Linked DNA regions of Homo sapiens: regions 1, 2 and 3 are each linked to region 4. The links are contacts of gene promoters, found by promoter capture Hi-C in human tissues and cell types (Jung and others, 2019). All regions are on one chromosome and are shown on one strand. The core of a region is centred on a gene start or on the middle of the fragment in contact, and the rest is flanking DNA. Distances in the headings are between cores, read along the strand shown.

Region 1 (2,857 bases), core at 68-2,567, 1.5 Mb before region 4:
GCTTGAACCCTGGCAGCGAAGGTTGCAGTGAGCTGAGATCGCGCCACTGCACTCCAGCCTGGCGACAGAGCGAGACTCCATCTTAAAAAAAAAAAAAAAGAAACATCATTTCTCTTTTCTTTTTCATTCAGGGTCTGGCTCCGTCTCAGTAACTCCTTGGGGAAAGCGATGGAGAAGGGCTCGCTCACGCAGCACTTCTGGCAGTCCCTGAAGGACCACTACCTCAAGTCTCCCAGGCTGGAGTGCAGTGGCACGACTTCAGCACACTGCAACCTCCGCCTCCTGGGTTAAAGCGATTCTCCTGCCTCAGTCTCCCGAGTAGCTGGGATAACAAGTGCGCGCCACGGGGATTAAGCCCTCTCGTATGCCTCTGGAATGGTACTATGTACCATCTTCCTAGCAATGATAAAACACTCAATTACCTGTGTTCTGTGGTTCAAATGGGGAACGCTAATGAGAATATAAGACAGCCAGTTAAAGGGTGGCTAATCCTGACTTATCTATGTTAACCTACATACTCCAGGGATTTGGGAGTGGTTAACAAAGATATCAGGCTGAATTAAGATGGTCTCTACTGTTAGACGTTGATCACTTAATACTCACAGGTATCTACTGAATAACCCATACGGGTAGATGCATGACAGTTTTAGAACTGATCCCTTTTAATACATAACGTTCAGAATGACCTTAGTGAGGCCCAGAAAATTTTGAAGGTCTTTCTGAAAAGCTAGGGTATTTAACATTTCTCCAACTTCCACGTTTACTGAGTGGCTCAACAAAAGAATGCATTTCTCAGAAAGGAGGATGAAGCTAAGCAGGAAGTTTCGCTTTTCTTTTCTGATAACTCTTAGTTCTCGTCCTAGTTCCTCCTCCACAGTCTCTTAACTCTAGGAGTATGATAGGGAGCATCCCGCCGGTGCCAGCTGGGAACGGGGAGCCGGCGTGCCCGGGGTATCCCGGGGTACGTGGTCTGCAGGGCGCAGCCACCACGTCTCAGCATGTGCGTACCCACGAGAGCCGGCAAGAAGGCCCCGGCACAGCAGCCTTGGTGGGAACCTCGCGGCGCTTCCCAGCCCAGACTCTCCTACCGCAAAGGCTTTAAAGACTCGCAGCGACACTCACTTCTTGCTCAGTTTCGGCTCGCTGCCATCCACTTTCACCTCGGCCGCCTGCACGGCCGCCATCTTCCCGGAGGGCCCGACCCAAAAGTAAGGAGGATAGTACGTTAATTTCCAGGTCAAGGTGCGAAGCCCCACCTCTTCCGGGGGAGAGGGGGCGGGCACTCTCGATGCGCCGCGGCTGCTGCTGCGCAGGCCCAGTGCTGCGCTTCGCGGCAGAGGCGTCTGCGGTGACAGCTCAGTCAGTTGAGCTCTGTGTGCCAGGCGCTCGCGAGGGGGTAGCTCTTCTAGTAGTGCTCGGCGTCAGACATGGCGGAGGCGATGGATTTGGGCAAAGACCCCAACGGGCCCACCCATTCCTCGACTCTGTTCGTGAGGGACGACGGCAGCTCCATGTCCTTCTACGTGCGGCCCAGCCCGGCCAAGCGTCGGCTGTCGACGCTCATCCTGCACGGCGGCGGCACCGTGTGCCGAGTGCAGGAGCCCGGGGCCGTGCTGCTGGCCCAGCCCGGGGAGGCGCTGGCCGAGGCCTCGGGTGATTTCATCTCCACGCAGTACATCCTGGACTGCGTGGAGCGCAACGAGAGGCTGGAGCTGGAGGCCTATCGGCTGGGCCCCGCCTCGGCGGCGGACACCGGCTCGGAAGCAAAGCCCGGGGCCCTGGCCGAGGGCGCCGCGGAGCCGGAGCCGCAGCGGCACGCCGGGCGGATCGCCTTCACGGATGCGGACGACGTAGCCATCCTTACCTACGTGAAGGAAAATGCCCGCTCGCCCAGCTCCGTCACCGGTAACGCCTTGTGGAAAGCGATGGAGAAGAGCTCGCTCACGCAGCACTCGTGGCAGTCCCTGAAGGACCGCTACCTCAAGCACCTGCGGGGCCAGGAGCATAAGTACCTGCTGGGGGACGCGCCGGTGAGCCCCTCCTCCCAGAAGCTCAAGCGGAAGGCGGAGGAGGACCCGGAGGCCGCGGATAGCGGGGGTGAGGAGGCTGAGCGCGGGGCCTCGCGGATATCTGCGCGGGTGGGGTTGGGATCTTTCTCCTGGCTGCCTGGCGTCCATCTTGGCATCTTCGGTAGCAGCGCTTGGCCCCGCCCCCTGTTGACATCCGGGTAAATTTGCACCATTTTCTTGCCTTCTCGCTCCCTTGTTGTTTATTATTGTTCTTTTTTTGCGATGGGTCTCTGTTACCTAAGCTGGTCTGAACTCCTGAGCTCAAGCGATCCTCCTGCCTCGGCCACCCAAAGTGTTGGGATTACAGGAGTGAGCCACCACGTCTGGCCTCTCGTCGTTTTTATTTTTTAATTTTTGAGTGGGGGCTCGCTCCGTCGCCCAGGCTGTGATGCAGCCGCGCGATCACGACCTACTGCATCCTGGACCTCCTGGGCTCAAGCGAATCTCCGGCTTCAGCCTCCCAAGTAGCTGGAACTACACTCCCGCGCCACCACGTCCCGCTAAATTAAAAAAAAAATTGTTGTAGAGATGGGGGTCTCGTTGTGTTGCCCTGACAGGTCTCGAACTCTTGGGCTCAAGCGATCCTCCCGTCTCGGTGTCCCAAAGTGTTGGGATTACAGGCGTGAGCCATCACACCCAGCTTCTTGGTCTAGTTTTAATTTACTTTACCATTGACTAGAATATTGACATGGTTCTATATTCAAAAGTTACAAAAAGTATATAGAAAATTCTCTCTTGGCCGGGCGCGGCGGCTCAAGCTTGTAATCCCAGCACTTTGGGAGGCCGAG
Region 2 (3,191 bases), core at 195-2,694, 1.6 Mb before region 4:
ACAAAAAAACATTTCCTAGGCACCTGTACTGTCCTGGGGCCCAGAGGGCCTTTCCTAAAGCCTAACATCAAGGCCCTAGAGGCAGTGAGGCACGACTCCACTTCCCCTGAGTCTGGTTGCAAATTAACTCACCAAGCTATTTTTTCTCAAGAATTTCATGGAGAGCTTTTGAAAGCCACACCCTTTGAGACCCAAGTATGGAATAAGAACCCGCACCCCGACCCCTGCCCTGCGCAGTGAGGATTCCCGCGTGCAGCCGAAGCCCCAGCAAGACACTTCCAAACCAGCGCTAGCAGGGGAGATGAACTTTCCACGTTGCTGATGGAAAAGCCACCCCCAGCTCTTCCCGCCAACCCAGGTCTCTGGTGCAGGACAGAGGAGCGTCACAGCTGGGCCACTGGCCCGGCCCCCAGCCCAACCGAGTGTGGGGACACCTCCGGTGGAGAATGAAGAACCAAAGTACCTCAAAGCTTGGCGTGTCTGCCAGAGCTGGAGCAGCAGCCAGAGGGACGCCTCTCCCCCTGGGCTCAGCAAAAGCTCCCAGACGTCGTCTCTTCCAAGTTCCACCGCACAGCCAGCTCTTTCTCTTCACTGGGAGGTTCCGCAGGGGCTGACTTGCTCCTTAAGGTCCCAAGACTATTAAGGGACACCCAGTGAGGCTGGGAAAGGGGCTCTAAGAGGCATGGACGAAGAGTCGGGGGTAACCAAGCCACTGGAAGCTCCTGGAGACTCGAGGCAGAGCGAATCTGGGAACAGGGCAGGAGTCCCAGAATGGGATGTTGAGGATGGGGGTGTCCTGGGGCTACCACAGGGAAGGACCCGGCGCAGAGCTCCCTCCGGAGCCCGGCACTGCGGCCCGCGCCCTCTACTCCCCGCGCGCCGGCCAACAACCCTCGGCGCTGCCCCGCAATCTTCAGCGCTGCCTGGTGAGGAGCTTTCAGACGTGGCTGCGGTCCCAGGGTGGCCGGCGGGAGCCAGGGAAATGGGAGAAGGAAGGAAGGAGCAGGTTTTGCCCCCAGCTCCCTCTCCCCACCCCCGACCGAGGGGCCATGTCTCGGGGAGGGGCGCTGGCCGAGGGCAGAGCAGGAGGGCCCAGGTGGGCTGGGGCTCTAAGAGGCGCACCTTTTAGCCGGGGATGTCAAAGGACGCTGGCAGAGTCACTTCTCATCTAACTGACCACAAATGAACGTTGTAACCCTTCCTCACCCCCCCAATCGCCAGAGAACCTGGGAGCTCCTGGGAGGACAAAGGCCCTAGTGAAGGAAGTCGAATCTTAATCTTGGCCCTCCTCGCTCTTGGGGGCATCCTTGCAGCCAAGGGACTTGGAATCCAAACCCTTCCCAAGGCCCCAACCTCAGCCCTAAGCCAAGACCCAGGCACCTTGATGACACAGGAATCCGTGCTGCCTCCCGGTGCAGTGTCCCAGCTGGGAGGAGTTGAAAGACCAGGTGGCCTTAGGAGCTGTGCCCTCCCTGCCCTAGCCTCCGCCCAGAGGCGCAGGCTTGATAACATGTTCCAATGAATACAGGATATGTTTCAGTAAATAAAAGCTCCCCACCCACCCCTTACAAATAACAGCTCAGCCTGGCCTGGTGGCATATGACTGTAATCCCGGCACTTTGGGAGGCAAGGCAGGCAGATCACTTGAGGTCAGGAGTTCAAGACCAGCCTGGTCAACGTGGCAAAACCCCATCTCTACTGAAAATACAAAATTTAGCCGCGCATGGTAGCACATGCCTGTAATCCCAGCTACTAGGTAGGCTGAGACAGGAGAATAGCTTGAACCCCGGAGGTGGAGGCTGCAGTGAGCGGAGATGGGGCCATTGCACTCCAGACTGGGTGACAAAGCGAGACTCCATCTCAAAAACAAAGAAACAAACGGGCAGAGTCCAGTAATCTGAAAAGGATAGAGCATTGGGAGGTCCTTTAATCCATGGTGGTATCTGAAACGAGGAGTCCCTGCTGCTGGGAGTAGAAATTAGCAGTCTTTCCTGGCTGTGGTTTGGCAATGAATTAAGATCCTTAACAATGGTCATAAGTTTTCTGAATGTATCTTAAGGAAATAAACCAGCAACAATGATTTCTACACAAGGTTTATAAAAGTGTTGTTTGTGATACTAAAAAGGTTACATACAACAAAAAAGATTAGAAAGATGTGTGCCAGAATGCCAACCATAATAACTTCTGTGATCAAACTGCTGTGATCCCAGCACTTTGGGTGGCCAAAGCGGATGGATCACTTGAGGTCAGGAGTTCGAGACCAGCCTGACCACCAGGGTGAAGCCCTGTCTCTACTAAAAACACAAAAATTAGCCGGGCATGGTGGTGGGCACCCGTAATCCCAGCTACTCGGGAGGGTAAGGCAGGAGAATCACTTGAACCTGGGAGGTAGAGGCTGCAATGAGCTGAGATCATGCTGCTGCACTCCAGCCTGGGTAACAGAGTGAGACTCTGTCTCAAAAAAAAAAAAAAAAAAGAAAAAGAAAAAGAAAAGAAAAACCACCTACTGGGTACTATGCTTATTACGTGGGTGATGAAATAATCTGTACACCAAACCCCCAGGTTGTACAATTTAGCTATATACGAAACCCATACATATACCCCATGAGTCTACAATAAAAGTTGGAAGGAAAAAAAAAAAAGAAATAATTGCTTTATTAGCCTTACATGATGGAATATTAGGGGGGCCTCATCTGACTTAAGCCGAAACTGTACTAATCATTTGGCAAAATCAGGAGTCTTTCTGCCTCCAAATATTCAGTAATAACATCAAACCTTAACTTAGCTATGGGTCGGAGCTGAGTTAATAAAATCCTCTATATTTCTTTTTTTTTTTTTTTTTGAGACGGAGTCTAGCTCTGTTGCCAGGCTGGAGTGCAGTGGCGCAATCTCGGCTCACTGCAACCTCCGCCTCCAGGGTTCAAGCGATTCTCCTGCCTCAGCCTACTAAATAGTTGGGATGACAGGCACGTGTCGCCACACCCAGCCAATTTTTGTATTTTTAGTGGAGATGGGGTTTCACCATGTTGGCCAGGATGGTCTCGATCTCCTGACCTTGTGATTCACCCACCTCGGCCTCCCAAAGTGCTGGGATTACAGGCGTGAGCCACCGCTCCCGGCCTCTTGCTTTTTATTTACCTCTTGCAGCTATGCTGTGATTCAGAGTCAGAAACTATCAACATCTGGTCTGT
Region 3 (2,927 bases), core at 353-2,852, 1.5 Mb before region 4:
ACCTGGTGGTGGGGGTGAAAGGGGGAGGGCTGTAATGGGCATAGAAAGCCATGAATTAAAAAACCATCAAGCAGATCCCTAGGATACTTTGCAGGGAAATCTCTCACTCTTGGCCCTATCAATGCTCACTAGGCACATCCTGATCTCATTTGGACTCAATTATACAAAAAGCTTCCCAGTAGAAGATGAGCTTGTGATAGACATAGCTAAGCACTGTAAAACCAAACTGAAGGCCGGGCGCGGTGGCTCACCTGAGGTCAGGAGTTCGAGGCCAGCCTGGCCAACGTGGTGAAACCCTGTCTCTACTGAAAATACAAAAAAATTAGCCGGGCGTGATGGCGCGTGCCTGTAGTCCCAGCTACTCGGGAGGCTGAGGCAGGAGAATCGCTTGAACCCGGGAGGCGGAGGTCGCAATGAGCCGAGATTGTGCCACTGCACTCCAGGCTGGGTGACAGAGCGAGACTCCCTCTCAAAAAAACAAAAAAGGCTTTCCTGAGCTCCAGTGCATGCAGCTTTTGAAAGATGGTATTGTTATGAATCCCCTGCAGCGCAACGTGCAGGCTCGCTACTGTAGTGAATGCTACTGGTAAATCAGACCACAGTGATTTAAAACAAAAATCTGCAGGAAGTGAGACCCTGTGACTTGAAAGTCAGAGGGCCAGGGCAAGCCTTGTCAAGAAAAGAAAGCATGAGATCCTAGAATCCTCGTTTGGAAGGGACTCACCTCTCATTTCTAGGGAGGCATCACAAGGCAGTATAGTTTATGAAGACCACCTGGCCATCGACCTGAAATTAAACCAGAGGTGCAATTCACAAACCTCGATAGGCAAGGCAGGTAGAAGTTGCCAGAAGAAACAGTGACTCTCTTTAAGATGAAGCAGCCCAGAACGGCATCATCTCACTCAGGTAGTGCGTCTGAATGAGCATGCACAATTGTTTAAATGAATAAATGTTTTGCTACACTGGGTCCATTATAATTCGAGCCTACACCCCCTCCTAGATCTTGAAAACTTGAAGAACTTCTTAGCTGAAAATAACAGCTCAGCTAAACAGGCATTTATTTGCCCACAAGACCGCATCTCTGAACAGTTTCAACAAGCTAAAAAAACTGACGTCCTTTCCAAAGAAAAGGAAGTCGGCTGCCAGGGGAGAAAAGGCTTCAGCGATGCTTGGAGGAAGGGACTCTGGTTTACGCTGGCTCCCTTCCTAAACACTTCCGGAAGCAGAGCCCCTTCCCGGCCGCTGGAGAAGCCTGGGTGGGACCCCGAGTCGGCCAGTTACAGGATAGGAGGTGCCAGGCAAGGCACTGAAGCCATGCAGTGAGAACAGCGTGAGCGCCTGATCCATTGGGTCCTGCGGCTGCCAGGCCAGAGGCCCCGCGCCAGGAGCTCTTCAGGCGCCGGCTGCTGACAGTTCCAGGCGTGGAGCGCCTTCCCACGTGAAACGCGTCCCGGAAGATACGATCCTCACAACCTCTTCCCTCAAAAACAGACTCGGCAAAGTTAGCCCGGATAAACCTGCCCCGTCGCCCCAGCGCCTCGCGGACGCTCCCCTCCCACCTTCAGGAAACGCGCCTAGAAGAAAGCGAGCTTAATCCGCCGGTAAGGCGGACGTGACGTCACAAAGCGCCGGTTCCTTTCGGCTCCCGCTCCCAGAGGCGCGCAGTGCATGCCGGGCCCTGTAGTTTTTCCGGGGAGTCGGTGCCAGGGCCGAGATTCCCGCGCTTCAAGTCCCGCAGCCCTGGCTGCGTCTTAGAGAGGCGTGAAACCGGATGATGGGAGCCGCTTGTTGGCTTAGATATTCCTTCAACTAGAATGACGTATCTTGCAGCACTCGGCTGAATTTTTTTCTTTTTCTTTTTTTTTTTTGAGACGGAGTCTTGCTCTGTTGCTCAGGCTGGAGTGTAGAGGCGCGATCTCGGCTCACTGCAACCTTCGCCTCCCGGTTCAAGCGATTCTCCTGACTATGCTGTATTTCTATCTGTAACATCACTGTCCAATAGATATATAATTCGAACCATATACGTAATTTAAAAATTTCCAGTAGCCTCATTAAAAGTCAAAATAGAAACAATCATATATATTTTATTTAACCCATACATCCCAAATAGTATTATTTCAACATATAATCAAAAAATTTTTTGAGATGGAGTCTCGCTTTGTCGCCCAGGCTGGAAGCGGCGCAATTTCGGCGCACTGCAACCTCCGTCTCCTGGCTTCAAGCGATTCTCCTGCCTCAGCCTCCCAAGTAGCTGGGATTACAGGCGCCCGCCATCACACCCGGCTCATTTTTGTTATTTTTAGTAGAGACGGGGTTTCGCCATGTTACCAGGCTGGTCTCGAACTCCTGACCTCAAGTGATCCGCCCGCCTCAACCTCCCAGAGTGCTGGGATTACAGGCGTGAGTCACGATGCCCGGGGTCGGTCTGTCTGTCTCATATATATATATATATATATTTTTTTTTTTTTTTTTTTTTTTTTTGAGACGGAGTCTCGCTCTGTCACCCAGGCTGGAGTGCAGTGGCGCAATCTCTGCTCACTGCAAGCTCCGCCTCCCAGGTTCACGCCATTCTCCTGCCTCAGCCTCGCGAGTAGCTGGGACTACAGGTGCCTGCCACCACGTCAGGCTAATTTTTGTATTTTTAGTAGATACGGGGTTTCACCATGTTAGCCAGGATGGTCTCGATCTCCTGACCTCGTGATCTGCCCGCCTCGGCCTCCCAAAGTGCTGGATTACAGGCGTGAGCCACCGCACCTGGCTGCCGAGTCTCAATATTTTAAAAAATACTTATGTTCTGTTCTGTTTTTAATGCGAAGTTTAAGAAATCTGGTGTGTGTTACACTTAGAATACATCCCAATTTGGATCAGCCACATTTCAGATGCTGGATAGTCACATGTGGCTACTGGCTACTGTAGTACAGTACTAC
Region 4 (2,906 bases), core at 132-2,631:
TCAAGTCTCAAAATCTTTGGAACATATGCTTCCATATCAGGTACATGGGTTTTTTCTGCCATCTAGTGGCCACCTTTGATAAAGACAGTCATCTTTATGTGAGCAAAGGTTTCCCACCTAGAGCACTACATAGGAAACTCCCAGGCTCCCAGGCATCTTTTTCAGTTTACACTTTTCAGGGAGTTCCCCTAAAATTGCCTCTGAAATTGGAATAAAAGCAAAGGTCCTAGTCCTCAGGGAGGCACAAAGCTAGGATAAGTTGTTAGAATAGCACTAGCTGAGCCACTGATTCTCTGGGTGGCTGCCAGCTAAGTCTCTTTTCCTTCCCCAACCTGTTTTCTCATCTATAAGATAAATCACACTGGCGGGTCCCTGTTAGCTCTAATACTCTGGTGTTCTGAGTCCCTCCAATTTTAAATCTTTATTTGGACAAGCATGTCTATACTTGCCTCATTAATTAAAGTAAATCGAGGAGAAATTATAACATCTAGACAACGAAGTTGCTATTCCCTAGGACAACTCAGCGATAAGGTAGTTGAGTATCATGTTTCTGACATCATCTTCCTCTTGGGGAAGGTTTTCCTTTTCAATTTCCTTGTAGAGACTGTATGAATCATGGCTTCATTTATCCTAAAGTCCATAAGTAAAATGCAGATTATCAATGAGCAAGTTGTTTATTTCAAATATGTAGATACTCCTTGACAAATTCTCAAAAGGTTTTATCGCACTGATAATGGACAGTAATCTATTTGATGGGGTTTATTTAAATCGCAATTTTCTATTCTCCGTGCCACAGAAATGGCTTAAGTCCTCCCAAGCTTTTATTCGAAGGACTGACATATTCTCATTAGCATCCCACCTGCTTCTAAAATCTCTTTCCTTTCATCGTTATTCCATCCAAAAATCAGGAGAGAATAATCTTTTTCATTCTTCTTTTTAATTGACAAATAAAAATTATATATATTGATGGTGTCCAACATGCTGTTTTGATATATGTATAGATATTGTGAAATGGCTAAATCAAGCTAATTAAATATGCATTACCTTCACATACTTAACATTTCTTTTTTTTTTTTTTTTTGCAATACAAACACTTAAAATCTACTCTCTTAGCAATTTTCAAGTTTGCCATACTTCTACCCAAAGATTCCACTGGCTTCCTGCCACCATCCTTCAGTCTAAAACTGTATCATGCTGTTCCTGGCATTCTTTGATCAGGGCCTATGAGAGAAATTTATTTCCTGCTTCCTGGGCATTCAGATTCCCAGCAGCTGCAACAACCTGAACTTCCTTTGGACAATTACTCCTTATGATGACTTGAGTGATCTTGGCCTCACTTTCAAGCCCAGGGTGAACCTTCATTGCCTTGGCCCATTCTAAATGAATCATTTCCTGGCCATAGTGATTGGTTCTGGCATGGACACATATCTAACCAGAGTCAATGAGATTTCCACTGAGACTTCTGAGAAATAGATTCTCTCCCATCCCTTCTGGACTTAAAGCAAGACATATGTAGCCACAGAAGCAGCTAGAGCCCTCTTGAGACCTGGAGGGAGAAACTGCTAGAAAATGGAGTATACATCAAGGAAGAAGAGGAAGGAATGAAGAAAGAAACTGAATCTTGGCCACATCATTGGAGCCCTGGATCAACCCTCACCTGAAGATTGCCCTCACCTTCTTTTCAACTCACCAATGAAGTGTTTTCATTGTTTAAGGCAGTTCAAGTTGGGTTTTCTGCAATTTAAAATAATAATAATACTAATAAAATCTATAGCTCATGTGGGTTCCAAGCAACCTTTCCATGTGTTTCACCTTAGTTTTCATAGATGCTTTTCTTCCAGTTTTGCCAAACTAATGGAGAATACTCAGGCAGAAGAGACAGTGTGGTTTACTCTAAGAACTCATCCAAGTTCTGAGAGTACTGAGTTGATCATTAATAATTGGACCTAGGTATGTGGGAGAAGGCAGAGACAAGGGTGACCCCAAGGTGAGGGACATAAGTCACTGTGGGACTAACTTCTGGTAACATTAAGAGAAGAAACAAGTTTGGGAAAAGGAGATGAGTTTCCATTTGGAACAACTTGAATTTAAGTAGACTTATCCTTTTGAGCTGCAAACGTTGACCTGTCTGCATCCTCCAGAAAACTGGAAGTTTGTTAAGGGCAGGGACTGTGGGCTCTAAATCTTCAATCATCTCCCACAGGACCCCAATAAATATGTATTCTAATAATAAGAAAATAAAATCAATGAAATATAAGTTACCCAAAAATAATTAGAGAACAGTGAAGTCCCAGTCTCCTCTTTGGGCCTGATGATTACGTCTGTCAAATGTTCAGAAAAATTCTGAGATGCCTGCTGGAGAGAACGAGTTCTGTCAGTAGAGGAGGCAGCATTGAAGCTGTACTTGTAATATTTATTTGGAAGGAGAGGAGTACCCCATCCCGGAGGAAGGGCTTGAGCAAAGGCACTCCTGCTCCCTATCTGACTGGGGAATACCACTTGTAGGGTACAGAATCATACCATTATTTCAGAAAACTGAGGAGAGAGCTGGAGTAATACTACCAGTAAGAGATCCCACTTCACCTGACAATGACCCATCAGAGTGGTCAGAGAATCAGAGGCTACACAGAAGGGACTGTGCTTGGAGAAATAGGTCACAGATAATTAAACAAAAGAAGAATTTTTGTTTGTTTGTCTTTGAGACGGAGTTTTGCTCTTACGCCCAGGCTGGAGTGCAGTGGCCAGCGATCTCAGCTCACTGCAAACTCTGCCTGCTGGTTTCAAGCAATTCTCCTTCCTCAGCCTCCCGAGTAGCTGCGATTACAGGAGTCCACCACCACGCCCAGGTAATTTTCATATTTTTAGTAGAGACGGGGTTTCACCATGTTGGCCAGGCTGGTCTCGAA

The links. Contacts are between HindIII fragments. The study calls those that stand out against the background at their distance.
Region 1: the fragment with the promoter of TERF2IP here is called in contact with a fragment that was not itself captured in region 4 in 1 of the 25 tissues and cell types used here (dorsolateral prefrontal cortex).
Region 2: the fragment with the promoter of CHST5 here is called in contact with a fragment that was not itself captured in region 4 in 1 of the 25 tissues and cell types used here (lymphoblastoid cells).
Region 3: the fragment with the promoter of ADAT1 here is called in contact with a fragment that was not itself captured in region 4 in 1 of the 25 tissues and cell types used here (heart right ventricle).

What each region holds. Positions count from the first base shown.
Region 1 is chr16:75,646,456-75,649,312 of GRCh38, forward strand. It overlaps TERF2IP (TERF2 interacting protein), which reads left to right and starts at 1,318. Exons shown (of 3, transcript NM_018975.4): 1 at 1,318-2,097. The coding sequence starts at 1,428. KARS1 (lysyl-tRNA synthetase 1) reads right to left here and starts at 1,210. Exons shown (of 14, transcript NM_005548.3): 1 at 1,123-1,210. The coding sequence starts at 1,184. RefSeq lists enhancers at 1,063-1,242, 1,282-2,239, 2,173-2,442, 2,240-2,857 and a silencer at 1,743-1,862. The HindIII fragment of the contact is 7,104 bases long and covers 1-2,857 here.
Region 2 is chr16:75,534,664-75,537,854 of GRCh38, forward strand. CHST5 (carbohydrate sulfotransferase 5) reads right to left here and starts at 1,445. Exons shown (of 4, transcript NM_024533.5): 1 at 1,381-1,445; 2 at 464-746. TMEM231 (transmembrane protein 231) reads right to left here. Exons shown (of 7, transcript NM_001077418.3): 7 at 2,078-3,191. The HindIII fragment of the contact is 10,484 bases long and covers 1-3,191 here.
Region 3 is chr16:75,621,679-75,624,605 of GRCh38, forward strand. It overlaps ADAT1 (adenosine deaminase tRNA specific 1), which reads right to left and starts at 1,603. Exons shown (of 10, transcript NM_001324445.2): 1 at 725-1,603. RefSeq lists enhancers at 1-356, 357-876, 877-1,396, 1,278-1,517, 1,397-1,916. The HindIII fragment of the contact is 9,595 bases long and covers 1-2,927 here.
Region 4 is chr16:77,171,878-77,174,783 of GRCh38, forward strand. No RefSeq gene overlaps it. Among named protein-coding and RNA genes, the nearest start is that of MON1B, 18 kb to the right of the region's middle. The HindIII fragment of the contact is 5,474 bases long and covers 1-2,906 here.